3 separate regions of the Homo sapiens genome follow, and regions 1 and 2 are each linked to region 3. The links are contacts of gene promoters, found by promoter capture Hi-C in human tissues and cell types (Jung and others, 2019). All regions are on one chromosome and are shown on one strand. Each heading gives the region's core, a stretch centred on a gene start or on the middle of the fragment in contact. The rest is flanking DNA. Distances are from core to core; before and after follow the strand shown.

The links. The method cuts DNA at HindIII sites, captures the fragments that hold promoters and counts their contacts. A contact is called where the count stands out against the background at its distance.
Region 1: a contact is called between a fragment that was not itself captured here and the fragment with the promoter of LYZL1 in region 3, in 2 of the 25 tissues and cell types used here (mesenchymal stem cells and thymus).
Region 2: a contact is called between a fragment that was not itself captured here and the fragment with the promoter of LYZL1 in region 3, in 4 of the 25 tissues and cell types used here (H1 embryonic stem cells, bladder, mesenchymal stem cells and 1 more).

The regions. Positions count from the first base shown.
Region 1 is chr10:29,362,079-29,364,932 of GRCh38, forward strand. No RefSeq gene overlaps it. Among named protein-coding and RNA genes, the nearest start is that of SVIL-AS1, 46 kb to the right of the region's middle. The HindIII fragment of the contact is 4,134 bases long and covers 1-2,854 here.
Region 2 is chr10:29,201,404-29,204,103 of GRCh38, forward strand. No RefSeq gene overlaps it. Among named protein-coding and RNA genes, the nearest start is that of LYZL1, 86 kb to the right of the region's middle. The HindIII fragment of the contact is 4,604 bases long and covers 1-2,700 here.
Region 3 is chr10:29,287,718-29,290,417 of GRCh38, forward strand. LYZL1 (lysozyme like 1) reads left to right here and starts at 1,353. Exons shown (of 5, transcript NM_032517.6): 1 at 1,353-1,513. The HindIII fragment of the contact is 13,518 bases long and covers 1-2,700 here.

The DNA.
Region 1 (2,854 bases), core at 130-2,629, 74 kb after region 3:
CATGGCCATTGATTTCCTGTTAATGGTTTCTCCACAAACATAAAATGAGGTGACTTGCAGAGATTGGGTTACATGTTCGGCTAATTGCAAAAACAAATTTTTAGTTTTTCCTGGAATTTCAGGTACTGGCACATTTAGTTCCTCATAGAAAGTCTGAAATACTTGTTCTGGAGAACGTTTTTGAACGTCTCCTTTTATTAGGATGCTTACACCCTAGGATCTAGTCCCTTTCCATCAATGTCTAATGATACATATTTTTCTTTTATTTTACTTTGGGTCTGAGGGGTTTGTGATGATCAATTCTAAAAGGTTGCAGCTCCCATTCATGCAGGAGGGGCTGACTTTTCCTTTTTGGAGTCAAACAGGATCTTTTTTATTTTCCTTTTAAGTAGTCCAAATGACACAAGACCAGTATTGACACATCTCACATAAATATGATTTTTGACAGATATACTTATTTTTTTATGGTGTACCTTTTTTTTTCTAATCTAGAGAACTGCATCCTCTCCCATGCTGCTTACTATCAGTAGCAGCACAAGCATCAAATTTTAAGGTTACATTTTTGGGGACCCCTCTTTTTTTATGTTCTAGCTATTACCTTACTTGTGTCACCTAGAAAAGGACCACTCCTTAATTTCATTTTAAAAACTGTGATTATGGGATGCTTAAAATGGGTCATAACATGCATCAGGTTGGTTATTTCCTGGGCTACATACCTTGGTAGGATAGCATTATACAAACAAGTTTCTTTTAGAGTCCTGGTACACTTATAATAACCATAAAATAATAGGACTGTAGCAATCTTTTGTCCTACCTCAGTGACTTGATGAATATACTGGAAACAGTTCTCAGTCTGAGGAAGGTCAGTTGAAGTCCTTACTATACAAGTCCAAATTTTAAGGAAAATGAGTCCTGTGATGAGTTTCCTCATGTTTCGGCCGTGTGTGGACCAGTTAGCTTCCAGGTGTGACTGGAGCAGGGCTTGTCGTCTTCTTCAGAGTCACTTTGCAGGGGTTGGCGAAGCTGCTCCTATCCACGTGCAGCTCCCAGTCTACTGATGGTCTCGGTGGTTGGGCCCACTAGAATAAACTGAGTCCAATACTTTTACACAGTTATGTTTAACTGAGCTCTCTGATACCAGGAGTAAGGTGGCGGGGTTAGGGTGTTGCAAACTTTAATGGTTATGCGGGGATTTTCACAGAGCAAGCTTTGGTATCTAGTTAGTCTAGCATTTATTAGCTAATGATGTCCTTTGGTATTTATTAAAATCACCACAGCATGGGGAGACTTTATGTTTAGGTTTTGCCTAAGAGTTAGCTTATTTGCTTCTTGTGCTAACAGGGCCATTGCTGCCAGGGCCCTTGGACATGGGGGCCAGCCTTTGGAAACCCTGTCTAGTTGTTTTGAGAGATAGGCCACTGGCCTTGGCCAGGGCCCTGCAGTCTAGGTTAACTCTAACTGCCATTTGTTTTCTTTCTGACACATAGAGTGTAAAGAGTTTTGTCAGGTCAGGTAGCCTCAGGGCTGGGGCCGACATGAGTTTGTTTTTTTTTTTTAAACTCATGAAAAGCTTGTTGCTGTTGGTTGTAATAGATGTAGTTTATCTAATCTACATTTTTATTGACTGTCATCTACCAAAATATTGACTTAAATCTTCTAACTATTTGATTTTAAGCTTTAAATTGATCTGGTATTCCTTGCGGGGCTTCAATTGCATCTAAATAGATGTGAGAGTTGAAAGACCCATAAGGGGCTTCTCTCGCTTTACTATGTCTTATTATTTTTATTATTTTTTTCCTTCCTCTGATTGATGAAATGCCAGGGTGAAAGGGATAGCCAAATGGACTAAAGCACAAGTGCCACTCTAGTTATTCAGCAGAGTGCCCAGTAAAGGTCCACCACAATACCACCACACATCCACTCGGGGATGAACAAGGGCTGACTGATAAGCTCTTGAAAATTCTTAAGCTCACTGCATCCCTTCAGGTCTCCAAGGAATCTAAGTCTCCTCCCTACCGTGAGAGACACGAAGTGAACTTAGTGTTGGGAGACGGAAGCTGGACGGCCCTCGGGGGCTGACCCGCAGGGTGCCAGACTTCGGGATATAGCAGAGAGAGCTTGGCATGACTTGTTACTCCAGGCTGTAGAATCCTGCAAAAGAGCTACTATGCAGCCCACGCCTGGTGGACTGGAGGACCACCTTAGTGGAAGGGGGACAATAAGGGCCTCTGGCCTGCCATGTGCACAAGCATAACAATTGCTTTTGTTTAATGTGCAGATGGAATATTTGATCCATTTCAACTAGGCATTTGCATCTTGGTATGCTGTCTTAATTGCCAAAGTTTGTTTTAAGTCTTTAACTTTTATGATCCTCTAGTAAAATGAATGTTTTCTTTTGTACCAATTTTTATTAGTTTTTAGACCAAAGAAAGCTAAACACCATTTTATATTTAATAATGTTTCTTGTATGATTTTTATACCAGATAAGCTAAATTTTACCATTATATTAGTGTGTTATTAATATTAAACTTAATTTTAATAAAACCTTGTAGACATATTTATCCAATTTTTTATATTTGACCATAAGGTAAGATTTTATAGACTCTTTTTAACCTTTTATAATTTTTGTTAAAGAGCAGGTTGATGCTTTAAGAAAAAAAACCTGTTGCATTTTTACTTTCATGTCCAGTTCACAGAGAAACTGGATGATACCTTTTTAACTTTAGCTAATATGTTTACACACAGAATTTTCTTTACAATTAACCTTTTAAAACTTGCTTAAACTTTTAAAACAATAATTTTCTTAACCTTTTAATGTAGGTAAAAATCCACATTCTTATGCCTCCTTATAATC
Region 2 (2,700 bases), core at 3-2,502, 86 kb before region 3:
TCTGCAGGATCTGTGTAGAAAGGTGTTATGGTGTTGGCTTTCTAGCACTAATGGGTTCAGACTGTTTCCTGGGTCTTCCGTCTGATGGTCTCTGAGCTCCCCAATTTATGCACATGCCCTGAAGATGCACTGTGTTGATTTGATGGTGCTGAGCTTTATGAAAGGGGGGAAGGTGAGTGTGGACTGGGGATAGGAGGCAGGACCACATCCTGCTAAACTCTGGGACTACTTAGGGGCCCTTCCAGACAGCCGTCCCTGAATTTCCCCCACTTTTCCCTGTCCAGTGTTTGACACTCTTGCTTTTTCTCCTAACAGCATCTCTCTGCCTCTTCTTTCCCTAGAGTTCTGTAAGCTTTTCCAGGACAATCTTGGGCACGTAAGGCAAATGGAGCTTAGAATTCTGGGCTCTGGTGAGAAGATGCTTTGTTCTGGCATCTGAGAAATGACGTGCAAGTGGGGAGCCACCCTCCACAGAAGGAGCCCTGTGACTCACGTGGAGCTCGGGGGGGCCCTTGAAGGACTTATGGTTTAACAAGGCCCAGGGGTCCATGAAAACCTCTGCAGAGGTCAGCCATCCTGAGCCTCCCCCTTAGCTGTCCCTGTTGTTTCCAGCCTTGTGAACCTATGGTGTCACTTCACTGCCTCTCTGAGCCTTAGTTTCCTCAGCCATCAAATTGTGCTGTTGCTCCCTGTCCCTTTCCTGTACATGCCCAGGAGATGAACATGAGATGTACAGGGAATAAACAGGAAATGCACATGAGATGCATATGAGATCAATGTCTTTGAAAGCGCAAATTACAAACTTATGGCAACAGTAGATGTTAAGATGTTATTAATCCCAGAAAGCTAACAGGCTGGATGCACATCAATGGCCCTGAAGCAGTTTGAGAATGGAGAGAGTCCGGCTCAGCTACCGAGCCTTACTCCATCACGAAGCCCAGAAGGGCAGGTAAACAACCTCCCCTCGAGGGATGCAGAGGGCCCCATGAGCTCGCTATATCCCCTTCCTTTCAGGATTTGGAGGGAAAATGCCTTCATTTTCTGTGTAACCAGCCTGAACTGAAACACATATCACTTTGTGCCAAGTTCTAGGGGCTTGAGTTTCCTTTACTGAGGGCACCACTCCCATGTGTCAGTGGGAACCGGATCAGCGGGAGCTTAGTGGTTTTACTTGAGGGGAACCTACAGGAAATAATTTAAGAAGATAATAAGGGGGATTTTTCCTGTCTAGAAATGAGGCCCATGAGTCTTTGCAAATGACATTACTCTCTGATTCAGAAATAAATGCAGGAAAATGGCCTCAGTTGTTTTGCCAAGTCAGTGCGATTGGCCGTAGACACTCTCAGATTAGTATGGAGCTTCCACGCCTTATACTTTGCCCAGGATCCGAGGCCCTGCACAACGTCCTGCCTGTCCTAATAATTCTCTTTCCCAGCATCCAGTACTCGCACACAGTCAGGATCCCTCCTGAGCCCACGCTTTCCTGTTCTCTCATTCTCCATTGTCTTCTTTGCCCCCATTAGATTTGCACAGTTGTTCAGAATTTCATTATCATCAGAACTAAAGTTATAAGCTAATGCCCACTGAGGTAGAGGGTACTTTGTGAGGTACCCTCCTCCTCGTAAACAATTTTTTTTTTTAAGAAACAGTTTAACTCAAAAGGGCAACTAGTTTTGAAATTCAGCATTCAGCTGTCTGCCCAGGAATTTGTAGGTGGGAAAAGGGATTGTTCGATACCTAGAAAAAAAATAATTAGGCTGAGCACAGTGGCTCACATAATCCCAGCACTTTGGGAGGCTGAGGCAGGGGGATAGCTTGAGGCCAGAAGTTTGAAACCAGCCTAGTCAACATGAGATTCTTTTCTGAAAAAAAAAAAAAAAAAAAATTAGCTGGTGTGATGACACATGCTTCTAATTCCATCAGTTTGGGAGGCTGAGGTGGAAGGATCACTTCAGCCCAAGAATTCAAGGCTGCAGTGAGGTATGATTGTGCCATTGCACTCTGGCCTGGGCAACAAAGCAAGACCCTGTCTCGAAAGAAAGAGAGAGGGAAAAAGAGAATGAGAGAGAAAGAAAGAGAGAAAAGGAGAGAGAAAGAAAGAGAGCGAGGAAGAAAGAGAAAGGGAGAGAGAAAGAGAGAGAGAGAAAGGGAGAGAGAAAGAAAGAAAGGGAGAGAAAAAAAAGAAAGGAAGGAAAAAAGAAGGAAGGGAAAAGGAGGAAAGGAAAGAAAAAAGGAAGGAAGGAAAAGAAGGAAGGAAAGGAGGGAGGAAGGAAAGGAGGGAGGGAGGGAAAAAGGAAGGAAGGAAATAACTAGAATAATGGTGCCTAGGGAAATATCTAATCCAATCTCTTCATTTAATAGGCCTAAGCCCAGTGACTACCGATTAAACAAATAAACTAATGAATGAGTAAATGGACCTGAAGAGTTGGAGTTGTCACTGAGATCACCTAGGGTTCAAGGCCAACACTCTCACTTTCTAGGTGAAGGAGCTGAAGCTTAAGCTACAACCTGCCCAAGTAAAATCACGATCAGTGACAAGGAACACTGAAGGTGGAGTCTCCAGGTCCCCAGTGCCCTTAGCAGATGAGCCTCTCCCACTCCAGTCACACCAGGCCCGAGTCCAGGGTGAGGGCCCCGCCTGGGCTAGAACCGGGGCTCTTCGCTTTTCTCTGCTTCTCATTGCCATCTGTATCACATTGC
Region 3 (2,700 bases), core at 103-2,602:
TTTGTGTACTATTGTAAATGGATTTTTTTTTATTTCAAACTCTTATTTTCTATTCCTAGTATATAAGATTGTAAATGGCTTTTGTATATTTACGTCATATCTGAAAACTTGCTAAGCAAGCATTTTTGAAAAAGAAAAAGACAATCCGTCTCTATTTTCTCACTGGTAAGATCCCTATTTCAAAGCATTTTGAAAAAGATGTTTGAGGGAAAAACCTATACATTTTCTCATATTATAGACTGTTCACAAGAAGTCCACTAATGGCTTCTAAAGATAAAAAAGACCCTCAAGCAGCTTGAAATAACGAAAGTTGAAATTGAAACTCTGCTGAAAAATTATGTTTCATCTCTAATATTGAGAAATATTGAAACATTTGATAACACAGTGTGCTATCTTCCTGATACAAGCCCATGTGAAAGGCAATTTGGCAAATATCTAGCAAAATTACAAAATTATACCCTTTGATCCAGCAAGATATTCTTGTAAAGTTACAAATGACATATGTACAAAATTACTGGTTGTAATATGTTTACAATAGAAGAATAAAATAAGTGTGCATCAATATGAAATTGGCTAAGTATGCTATGTTGTATCTGTATAATGCAATACTATATGAACTTCAAAATAGATTTCAACAAAACCTTTGCATTATTGGCAGATGGAATTTAAGAAAATATAACGATTAGTTAGGTGCAGCCAACAATAAACTTCTACTTAGATCTACATATTCTAATGAGAATTCATTTCAAATGTGTCACTAAATCTGAACATTGAAATAAATAGACCTTGAAAACAGCCCTTTAGTTATTGATTCACAAAGTGTTAAGCCAAATTTTTCAAAAATAATAAAATCATGTTATTACAAAAATATTTTATTAATAATAATTTGACTATAGCAAATGTGCTGTTAATAAATTTTTAATGTTAATTTCACCTCTATGTCATTAATTTTCAAATTTTAGTTTTATGTATGTTGATAATTTATGTAGCATATTAGTACTGAGGTACAGAAGTATGATTTATAACTCAATGTACATCTAAAGAGGATACATGCTTAACTTTCTTTATTAATGGAATTTGTGATAAAGTTTGCAGACGCCTCAGAGAAGAGCTCTCACTTGGACAGGAGGCCCTGGCCAAGTTGTGTAATGAGGAGGGTTGTTGAGGGGAAAAGACAAAAAACAAGAGGTATTAAGCCCCAGAAGACAGTTATCACCTGCCTCAGAACACAAGCATGCAGGATGATACAGCTTTTAGTGCCAAGAAGTAGAATTCTAGCATCTCTAGGTGGTGAGAAACAAAGGATTAAGAATTTTTCTTTCTCTAACACTCTAAAGAAATGTTCTTGAGCTAGGAAAGGATTACTCGCGCCTCGTTAGAATCAGACATGGCTTCAGGGGATGCAGGACGCTCCCCTGAGCTGCCTGTCACCGACTAAGTGGAGCAGTGTTTCTTCCGCAGACTCAACTGAGAAGTCAGCCTCTGGGGCAGGCACCAGGAATCTGCCTTTTCAGTAAGACCTAAATTACTCTTATGAGAACCAGCAATGGCAGGTTCTTGAAGGATGTAGAACATGATGCTTGGGGTTATCATTGCTGCGGGTTTTCTTTGGACTTGTTTGAGATCAGTAAAATTCTAAGGCAGGGGATGGAAACCAACTCTATTTGTAAGCTCTGTATCTTTTTTTCTTTTTTCTTTTCTTTTTTTTTTTTTTTTTTAGACAGGGTCTCTCACTCTGCTGCCCAGGCTGGAGTGCAGTGTCACAATCATGGCTCACTATGGCCTCAAACTCCCAGCCTCAAGTGATCCTCCCACCTCAGCCTCCCCAGTAGCTGGGACCACAGGCACACACCACCATGCCTGGCTAATTTTTGTATATTTTGTAGAGGCAGGGTCTACCTTTGCTGCCCAGGCTAGTCTCAAACTCCTGGCTTCAAGCAATCTGCTCACCTCAGCCTCCCAAAGTGCTTGGATTACAGGTATCACCCACCATGCCTGGCCTTAGCTCTGCATCTTAAACCTCGTTTGTCTGTCCCTCACAGCTTAACACAGTGCTGTACACAGCGGACTGGCATGCTCTCTCTGAAAAGGGCCAGATAATAATATGTTAGGCTTTGTGGTCTATACGGCCTCAAACACAATTACTGAACTCTGCCACTGTAGTTGGAAATCAGCCACCAATGATATATTACCAAATGGGTGTAGCTATGTTTCAATAAAACTTTACATACAAAAGCGGGCCTGGTTTGCCCACGCTTGCTATTCACGTTTGTAATGTACATGCCCCTCATGCAATGCAGTTCCTTACCTTATTGCTTAGTCACCTTAAAGCCCTGCTTGTTACTTGGTGCGGTGGCCTTGCTGATGACTACTTATCCCTGTTTTGGGCCTAGCCTTTCAATGCAGGAATCCAGCCCCAGGGAGAGAAACTAATGACTGGAGAAGTTTCTAGGCAAGTGCAGAAAATGACACGGGATGAACATATGTAAGAACATCAAGTTCAGGATCCCGAGTAGTTGTCAGAAATTTCACTTCACCCCATCCCAGCAAGGCTGTTGTATTTGGGGAAGACATTATTTCAAGAGGGGAAGAGATTGTGGAAAATCAGTAGGCAGCAGGAGACAGCTCTCTTGATCCTACTCCCATTTCAGATGATTCCGCAGGGGTCTCTTTATTGCCCCTCTGCTCCCCCAGGTGCTT